Regions from separate parts of the Homo sapiens genome. Here regions 1 and 3 are each linked to region 2. The links are contacts of gene promoters, found by promoter capture Hi-C in blood cells and fetal thymus (Javierre and others, 2016). All regions are on one chromosome and are shown on one strand. Each heading gives the region's core, a stretch centred on a gene start or on the middle of the fragment in contact. The rest is flanking DNA. Distances are from core to core; before and after follow the strand shown.

What was found. Contacts are between HindIII fragments. The CHiCAGO score rates a contact against its expected background, and 5 or more counts as called.
Region 1: a contact is called between a fragment that was not itself captured here and the fragment with the promoter of H3C2 in region 2, in 14 of 17 cell types (erythroblasts, naive B cells, fetal thymus and 11 more). The highest score is 18.6, in erythroblasts.
Region 3: a fragment that was not itself captured here is called in contact with the fragment with the promoter of H3C2 in region 2 in 11 of 17 cell types (activated CD4 T cells, non-activated CD4 T cells, total CD4 T cells and 8 more); the score reaches 16.1 in activated CD4 T cells.

Annotation. Positions count from the first base shown.
Region 1 is chr6:27,136,938-27,140,120 of GRCh38, reverse strand. H4C9 (H4 clustered histone 9) reads right to left here and starts at 839. Exons shown (of 1, transcript NM_003495.3): 1 at 443-839. The coding sequence starts at 812. The coding sequence ends at 501. It also overlaps a transcript of H2BC12 not described here. RefSeq lists enhancers at 1-290, 291-883, 646-1,025. The HindIII fragment of the contact is 264 bases long and covers 1,483-1,746 here.
Region 2 is chr6:26,029,959-26,033,371 of GRCh38, reverse strand. It overlaps H3C2 (H3 clustered histone 2), which reads left to right and starts at 1,273. Exons shown (of 1, transcript NM_003537.4): 1 at 1,273-1,783. The coding sequence starts at 1,312. The coding sequence ends at 1,722. It overlaps H2AC4 (H2A clustered histone 4), which reads left to right. Exons shown (of 1, transcript NM_003513.3): 1 at 1-280. The coding sequence ends at 196. RefSeq lists enhancers at 1-309, 1,247-1,366, 1,407-1,636. The HindIII fragment of the contact is 2,287 bases long and covers 1-1,295 here.
Region 3 is chr6:27,155,129-27,158,245 of GRCh38, reverse strand. TRH-GTG1-5 (tRNA-His (anticodon GTG) 1-5) reads right to left here and starts at 119; the gene lies at 48-119. RefSeq lists a silencer at 1-8. The HindIII fragment of the contact is 1,152 bases long and covers 1,055-2,206 here.

The sequences.
Region 1 (3,183 bases), core at 365-2,864, 1.1 Mb before region 2:
TACAGTAGTAAAAGCATGGTCTGTCCCCCTCCCCCCCATGCAGAGCTCTGTGCCCGCCAAGTCCTCTTAAACCAGCCACCACGAAGTTTTCCTGGAGGTTCTAGCATTTAGTGGAGCCCATCAAACTCATTATCTCCTGAGACGTATTTGAAGGTCCAGAGGGAAGTTAATTATCTAGCCCGCCCCTATTTGGACCGCAGACCCCTTGGCTTTCTAAACTAATCCGAGCGGTAAACCGGCTGCAGGCAATTTCCAGGCAGCCGCCAGAAGTTACTGGCCAGCAGAGGCTCTTCTGGCCTTGGAAAAATCTCGGCCCAAGGTCACCTGTAGTCATCAGCCCATTTTCGGCGTCGAGTTAATCTTGTAAAATAGGATGACAGAACTCACTGACAATGGCCCTATTAAGAGACTCAGTTTGCAGTCATTTCAACTCTTTTGTTGAAAGCTTAGGGGCCCTAAAAAGGGCCTTTTTAGAGAATGACTGGGCTTCAAAATGCCATTTAGCCGCCGAAGCCATAGAGGGTGCGGCCCTGGCGCTTGAGCGCGTAGACCACGTCCATGGCGGTGACCGTCTTGCGCTTGGCGTGCTCCGTGTAGGTCACGGCGTCCCGGATCACGTTCTCCAGGAACACCTTCAACACTCCGCGGGTCTCCTCATAGATGAGGCCAGAAATGCGCTTCACGCCGCCGCGGCGAGCAAGGCGCCGAATGGCTGGCTTGGTGATACCCTGGATGTTGTCGCGCAGCACCTTGCGGTGGCGCTTGGCACCCCCTTTCCCCAGGCCCTTACCTCCTTTGCCGCGTCCTGACATTATCAAGTGGTCAGAGAACAAAGGTCTGCTGCCTGTGATGGCAGCTTTCTTTTATGGGTAACCTCTGCGGACCAGACTGAAAACCGGAAGAGCTTTGGCGGGAAGTCCCTCTGCATTGGGGGAGGGGACCTAAAAGGGAAACAGGCCTGCTGTGCTCTACTCCCTCTTGTTCTCCTTCAGTCCTTTTTAATCCTCAAGACCTAGGCTGTTTTTCCTTTTTTCATTTAACATGATTCCTGCCTCATAACAAAAATGTTAACATTATAGAAGATACATAAAGCAAAAAGAATGTTATCTCTGCATATATGCATGTTTTCCTTTAACATTATTTGTATGGAACTATGCTATTTTGTGGCATTTTTCTCCTTAATATACAATGGAAATATACTCCATATGCTAAATTCCTAGCAATAGAACAAGATAGACTCATAGAATTTAAAGATCGTTCAGGTATATTGCTAAGTTCTTTTCTACTTATTTTCATTTCTAGTGTTTGGGGTGGAGAATTATCCCCCCAAATATCGAGCTTGGTAATGGTGGGTGTTTTTGAAAATTGAGGGTTCTCAGAAACAAGTCTAAGAATCAAGGTCCCTCTAACTTTGTCCTGTTTCTCTTCCCCAAATACAGGGAGGGACTTTCTCTGGAATTTCCTGATATGACCAAGAAAGCTTCTTATCAAAAGAAGCACAATTGCCTTCGGTTACCTCATTATCTACTGCAGAAAAGAAGACGAGAATGCAACCATACCTAGATGGACTTTTCCACAAGCTAAAGCTGGCCTCTTGATCTCATTCAGATTCCAAAGAGAATCATTTACAAGTTAATTTCTGTCTCCTTGGTCCATTCCTTCTCTCTAATAATCATTTACTGTTCCTCAAAGAATTGTCTACATTACCCATCTCCTCTTTTGCCTCTGAGAAAGAGTATATAAGCTTCTGTACCCCACTGGGGGGTTGGGGTAATATTCTGTGGTCCTCAGCCCTGTACCTTAATAAATTTGTATGCCTTTTCTCTTATTAATCTTGTCAGTTGATTTTCAGTGAACTTTCAGAGGCCAAAAGGGAGGTTTTCTCTTGGCCCCTGCACCAGTAGCAGTTCCTGATATGCCTACAACCTTAACTAATGCTGGGTAGAACCATTTAAAGTAATCTAACTTTACTAATAAGGACTTGATTTCTTGTATATAGAAATAACTTTTCAAAAAGTTAATCAGTTGGTTAGTCAGCACAATACATTAACTATTTCCCCCACTGATTTGAGGAACTTATTATCATATACTGAATATATGAGCCACCGCACCCGGCCCATTTGGTGATTTTCTTGCTACTCTTTATTTTAATGAGTACCTTACAGCAGTGCTTGAAGTATTTTCAAAGTATTCCACTTAAATGTCATAAAGTAAATGAAGATAAACTTTTCATTAAAATACTTTAGAAATTTTTGCATTTATGTTGCAATAAAAGAAAACTTGCCATACACCTTTGGAAAACAAAAAAAAATTGATATGACTGGCTGTAACTTGCTGTAGCTGAATTCAGTATATGTTGTAAAGAGGGTAAGGTAGCATAGGTTAATTGAATACGTTAATCTAAGGGTAAATACAAATTAAAAATGAGAGGCTTAATTATCTGTTGAAAACAAAAGACTTCCCTTTCCTTTCCCATCACTTTCAAAATGTCTTTCTCTGTCCTTTTAAAATGTATGTAAATCCTTTTAATGGCTAAATAGGCCTTATAACTCAGAATATTTTCTCAATGCCTGGAGAGCCATCCCTTTGAAATGTTAATCATTAAAAAAGATAGTGGTCTGTCTCCCAGTTTCCAGCGAGAAAATGGGCTGAACTTTAGCTGTCACCTGACTTCGAATTGCAAAACCTATCCAATGTAGCCATACATAATAAGCAAGATTTCTTTCTGCTTTTGCAACCTCTTCATAAGGTTTCCTGTGATAAGCAACTCTCCCTGGTTTAATGCTTATTCAATAATAAAATTATTTCCTTTGTCTTCTTTGGGAGAAGATTTTAAAATTGTATTTCCCCAACATTAGTTAACAAGTATATTTCTCTACTTGAGCTTCTCACTAATCAGAAGCCTTTTTCTGTATCTGATTTCATGAGTTTTCGCATAGCAATTAGTGACAAGGATAGCAATGAATGGTAAAAGGTGGCAGAGCATGCCATCCCAAAATATGCCATTTTGGAATAAGAATTATTCTGAGATACAGGCAATTTTAAAAAGAGTAGGTACAAGAAAGGCACTTTGACCGTTCCCTTTTACCCCCTTAAAAGCAGGAATTAAAATTCCCCTGTGGAAGATGTCCTCCCTGTACCAAAAGGAAAAGAACATTTTCATCAAGGACAGGAAGTTGAAAC
Region 2 (3,413 bases), core at 24-2,523:
GGCGGGCAATGCGGCCCGCGACAACAAGAAGACCCGCATCATCCCGCGCCACCTGCAATTGGCCATCCGCAATGACGAGGAGCTTAATAAACTCTTGGGGCGTGTGACCATCGCGCAGGGTGGCGTTTTGCCTAATATTCAGGCGGTGCTGCTGCCTAAGAAAACTGAGAGCCATCATAAGGCCAAGGGAAAGTGAAGAGTTAACGCTTCATGCACTGCTGTTTTTCTGTCAGCAGACAAAATCAGCCTAACAGCAAAGGCTCTTTTCAGAGCCACCTACGACTTCCATTAAATGAGCTGTTGTGCTTTGGATTATGCCGCCCATAAAGATGTTTTTGAGGTGTTTTTAATGGCTTTGAGTGTGGCACTTTTAGTAATTTGTCCTGCAGAAATTAGATCCATAGAAACCTCAGGAATTCTAGGTATGTGGGAGAAGTGCCATGCAGCACAAAACATGTTTACAGGGGTGATTCGCGTTAAGTTTCACACACAGCAGTTACTACATTTTAGAGGAAGGAAATTATACCCATGAGTGCATTCCTAACTATCTTGAATGGAAGTGTTAAAACCCGCATGCCCCACACAAGTTTGAATATGTCATACCATTTGCTGTAGCAATTAATGGCATACACAATTGAGAGCACACACATTACCACTGAACATTTGAGTATGTATTTCCCAAAATGAGCTTTTTTCCAGTTTGGGGATGTTTTGCTTTGTTTTGGGGTGGAGTCTCCCTCTCGCCCAAGCTGCAGTGCAGCGGCGTGATAACAGCTCACTGTAACCTCGAACTCGGGCTCAAGCGATCCTCTTGACAGCCTTCTGAGTAGCTGGGATTACAGGCGAGAGCCGCCACGCCCGGCTAAGAGCATTTTTCTAATTGCCCACACTTCTTATGCGACACCCAGAAAAATACAATTTTAAATAAAGCGCATATGCAAATTTCCCTAATCGTCTCCAATATTCTCTGATTTCTTTTTTATATTTTAACTAGAAACAATTGGAGGTTTCCGCGTTGCTTTGTGTGGTTGTAAATTTTAAGACTTCAGGAAACTTTTCCAGTACAAGACTTGTCCACAGTGGATATAGCAGCTAAGGGGTTAACAAAATGACGTCAGAGTAGCTACGGTAATGGGCAGGAGCCTCTCTTAATCTGCAACCAGGCACAGAGATGGACCAATCCAAGAAGGGCGCGGGGATTTTTGAATTTTCTTGGGTCCAATAGTTGGTGGTCTGACTCTATAAAAGAAGAGTAGCTCTTTCCTTTCCTCCACAGACGTCTCTGCAGGCAAGCTTTTCTGTGGTTTTGCCATGGCTCGTACTAAACAGACAGCTCGGAAATCCACCGGCGGTAAAGCGCCACGCAAGCAGCTGGCTACCAAGGCTGCTCGCAAGAGCGCGCCGGCTACCGGCGGCGTGAAAAAGCCTCACCGTTACCGCCCGGGCACTGTGGCTCTGCGCGAGATCCGCCGCTACCAAAAGTCGACCGAGTTGCTGATTCGGAAGCTGCCGTTCCAGCGCCTGGTGCGAGAAATCGCCCAAGACTTCAAGACCGATCTTCGCTTCCAGAGCTCTGCGGTGATGGCGCTGCAGGAGGCTTGTGAGGCCTACTTGGTAGGGCTCTTTGAGGACACAAACCTTTGCGCCATCCATGCTAAGCGAGTGACTATTATGCCCAAAGACATCCAGCTCGCTCGCCGCATTCGCGGAGAAAGAGCGTAAATGTAAAGTCACTTTTTCATCAGTCTTAAAACCCAAAGGCTCTTTTCAGAGCCACCCACTTATTCCAACGAAAGTAGCTGTGATAATTTTTTGTTGTCTTAACAGAACAAATTTCTAAGGACCCCCCCGGAAAGCATTAGACTATGGTCTTAAAGTTGATTAACAGAAATAACGGTTTGGTCAGTCTTGCAGTGTAGGTTATTTCTGACCTTATTAAGGTGCTATTTGGAGAGAAGCTGTGTAAGTCCACTATCATTCAGGCCTCTAGCTTGCTATGATTAGCATTTGTTTAAACAACTTTGTAAGAGTAAGGGAAAAATCTGGTAAGTAGTTAACTGGCGCTTACTAGGCATTTTTGCAAAGCTTTGAAAAGATTAGAAAATTGTGTCTTGCGAGTTCCAGTGTCTTCCTCAAAATGCTTAGGAAGATTTTCTCAGCTCAATACATAGTCCCCTAGGTTTTCTCATATATTATATATATATATATATATATATATACTGTTAAATTCATTTGGCTGTTAACATTAACCTGAAATTTATTCTGGTGCAAAATGTGAGGCAGGGATCTAACTGGCTCTCATTTTATCCATAGCTAGCTACCCACTTTAAATCTGTCAGTCTGTCGACCAAGCATAATTTAATCCCTTATATATGAATTTTTATATGTGTGGCTTTGCTTGTAAATAGTCTATCTGGTTGCATTGCTTTGTCTCCTCTAGGACTATGCACCATGACATGCCACATTCTTTTTTTCAGTACTTCTTGCCTGTAGTTATTAAAATCTAGAATTTACAAGTTTTAACCATTTTCTTTCTGTTGATCTTGCTTTTCGGTTTTGGAGGTTGGGGATTGAGTACTGGAAGAAAATTTAGAGGGATGGGAATACTGTACGCAAACAAAAGTAATATTTACTTTAAAATTTTTATATTTTGTATTTTTTTATCATATAGCTTTTACATCACATTTTACAGACTAACTTTAGAACAACCACAGAATGTCCAACATTAAAACTACTAATTCCAAAGACCTTGCCTCACATTCTTTTTTACAATAAATATTTTTTACACCTAACATTCTTTCTTGGCCTACATCTAGAATGTAAACTGATGTACCATACTAAAATCGCCTGACCAACTGTCAACAACAACAAATCACACACACAAAAGATTAAATTTGAATTGCATCGTTTACTTAAATTCATTTGTGTTCCAGCTTTTAATAAGGCAGTTTTTGGTTTATAAAGTAATATTTGCATTTTAAAAATTATGAAAATGAATATGTCAGTTTGTTTTATGATTCGTTTTTCTTGACTCTTATACAAGCGACTCTAACTGGCATAGACATTTGTTATCCACAGACAGTATAGATATGTTAGAGATGCCAATGGACTTGGTCTATGCCAAGGTGACTACTCACAAGCTCTGGGCCCAGCTGAAGGTCAAGTATTTTTTTTCCAGTTATAGATGTGCTGGATCTGATGTATAGCGCTTGACTTTTTATATTTTCTTTATCTGTAGGAAACAAATGTGTTGGAGGTACTGGGTCTGACGAATAGCATAAAAGAATAAAGTTACATTACTGTCTGAGGATCAGATGGACAGGGGGTGGTAGCTCAGTCCAGCTATTTTCCACTCCCTCACTTACATTCTTTGCCCCCTCCTCAACAGAACAAGGATTCTGCTGTAACTCTTC
Region 3 (3,117 bases), core at 381-2,880, 1.1 Mb before region 2:
CAAGGTACTGCTCAGTACGTTGAGAAATTGAGGCGACATCAAGGTACTGCCGTGACTCGGATTCGAACCGAGGTTGCTGCGGCCACAACGCAGAGTACTAACCACTATACGATCACGGCACGCCACCAGAGGCCGCTGCTTGTGGGGCTCTTCCTTTGCTTATTTCCCAGAAACGTCTGTTTTTGTCATCTAAAGAATGGTGCAGTCTTTCGTCCTTATTTACACACCTACCCAGTTTACTTCCTTATCCACTCCCCGTCCCCAATATTTTGCTTATGGCAAAGAAGCCAAAGGTAACACATTAAGTTTCATTATATGGAATTTTCCCAGCGTGGTGGTTGTTTTTGGGGGTTGGTAATACTGTGCTTGTAAACTCATTATTCTCACTTCTATCTCCAACCCACGCATGTTTCTTGCTCAGTTTAGCAGTGTGGTCCTCAGATCTTTGGCAACAAAAGGAAGAGGGCGCTGCTTTGAAGTGGACCTGCCAGATCCCATTTTTTGCCAAACTAGTCAGAATCTTCGGGGGCTTGGCATGGAATCTGGCATCTCGACAGGTGCCAGAAGTGAGTTTCTCATCACGAGGAACTATGTGGCTTCGTCCTGACCCAGGTACCTATGAGAAGCCAGTGAGGCGCTCGCGCACTCAGCCTGCCCACCTGAGCCGTCAGGAAATGTCCGGCGGCGCTCGCACCTCAGAGTGAAATTTCTTTCTCCCTTTCATACCTAGTTTGCCAGAAGAGGGAGATAAAAGTGCCTCTCCTGTGGCTCCAAAGCTCCGTGGGACTTCCCTCCTGCCCCGCTTGCTGTTTTAGGAACGTAGCCTCTAGAGTCAAGGTCCTGGTCGTGTTTTCCCCTTGATACCAAATGATTTTCTTTCTGTAAAATCATTCTGGTCTTAAACTCCTGAACTCAACTGATCCGCCCCTCTCGGCTTCCCAAAGCGCTAGGATTACAGGAGTGAGCCACCGCGCCCGGCCTCTTCTCTTTACCTGGTTAAATTTGTTTAATGCTTCAGCTTCAACTCAAGAAAGCTTTTCAAATCAAGGAAGCTTTTCTTGACCTCCCGTCTCCACGCAACACATGGTTCCTTGGTTTTTTTTTTTTCCTTCCCTCCCTTCTTTCCCTCCTTCCTTCCTTCCTCTCTCCCTCCCTCCTTCCCTCTCTCTTTCTTTTCTTTTCTTCTTTCCTTCCTTCTTTCTTTCTCTCTCTCTCATTCTCTTTCTTCCTTCCTTCCTTTTCTTTCTTTCTTTCTCTTTCTTCTTCTTTTTTTTTTTCTCAGAGTCTCGCTCTGTTGCCCAGGCTGGAGGGCAATGACACAATCTCGACTCATTGCAACCTCCACCTCCCGGGTTCAAGCGATTCTCCTGCCTCAGCCTCCCGAGTAGCTGGGATTACAGGCGTAAGCTACTACGCAGGGCTAATTTTTGTATTTTTATTAGAGAGGGGGTTTCACCATGTTGGCCAGGCTGATCTATAACTCCTGACTTCAAGTGATCCACCCGCCTCGGGCTCCCAAAGTGCTGGGATTACAGGCGTGAGCCATCATGCCCGGCCACTTGATTCTTTTTCACTTTTCCTTTAGTGCTCTTATATCAGTTTGTAATGTATAATACCAGAGTTATTTGATTAATGTCAGCCTCCATCCTCCCGCTCCATATGCCCCAAGACGAGGAATATCTATTTTGTTCAATAATCTATCACTAGGGCTCCCCATTTGGTAGGTTCTTTATCAATATAGTTTGGCTGCAGAATGAATGAATGGGTGGGCAGAGACTACCATCCAAAGCTCTATGAAAGCAACTTCTCCCAGCAGCATCTGGCCTAGTTCAGCAGGCTTGCCTTTTGACCTTTGATGGGAAAAGATTGGTAATAATTTAAAGAAAGGTTGGGAGGTCAAGACAGGAGTATTGCTTGAGGCCATGAATTTGAATCAAGTTTGGGCAACATAGTGAGACCCTGTCTCTACAAAAAAAATAAAAAAATTTAACCAGGCACAGAGGTGCATGCCTGTAGTCCCCATTACAAGGGAGGCTGAGGCAGGAGGATCACTTGAATCCAGGAGTTTGAGGTTGCAGTGAGCTATGATTGTGCCTCTGCACTGCAGCCTGGGCTACAGAGCAAGATCCTCCCTCTAAAATAATAATAATAAATTTAAAAATGAAGGGAGTTCAAAATTACCCCTGCAGCTATCCATAATAAAGCTTCTCAGCAGAGCCAAAATAATGTGCTTAATTTCCTAAAATTTTCTTTATCTCCTTTCCTCTGTCTGGATTACACAAAAGTATTCTAATTACTAATAGGTTTACTGAATGAAGAATTACCTGTTTCCTAGCATCATTGTTATTATTATTATTATTATTATTATTATTATTATTATTTTATTTTATTTTATTTTTTGAGATGGAGTCTCGCTCTGTCGCCCAGGCTGGAGGGCAGTGGTGCGATCTTGGCTCACTGCAACCTCCGCCTCCTGGGTTCAAGTGATTCTCCTGCCTCAGCCTCTTGAGCAGCTGGGACTACAGGCGCGTGACACCACGACTGGCTAATTTTTTGTATTTTTAGTAGAGACGGGTTTTCACTGTTTCAGACAGGATGATCTCGATCTCCTGACCTTATGATCCGCCCACCTCCGCCACCCAAAGTGCTGGGATTACAGGCATGAGCCACCGCACCCAGCCCTAACATTAATTTGTTTGATCAGGGAAGTGACCTAAGGGCTTTCTCAGTCTCAAAGACATGAGCTCCATCAAAGAAAATGCAGCCAGTAAGAAGGAAATGCAAGCTGCCTCTGTCTCAAGTCTCTTTGAGTTAGATCTTTCCTTTTCCTTTGCTTAGGGCCTTCCCCAACCCCATTTAGAAAGCTGCTGTGAATGAAAGTGCTTTTCAGCATTTTCTGCTGGGATGTTTTTGGAAATTGGGTTGATCTGCATGTGCTTCTCCATAAAAAGAGGGAAAAGCTGTATCTTTGATGTCATAGGCCTAGAAAAAGGCCTCTTTCCTTGTGCTTATTTTGGAAGGCCATTTTGAAGATTTCATCTGACACATTCACTACAGTGATTCTGGGAAGAATAAGAGACAGGCTGGCACAGTTGAACCTACCAGTTCTACCTTTAC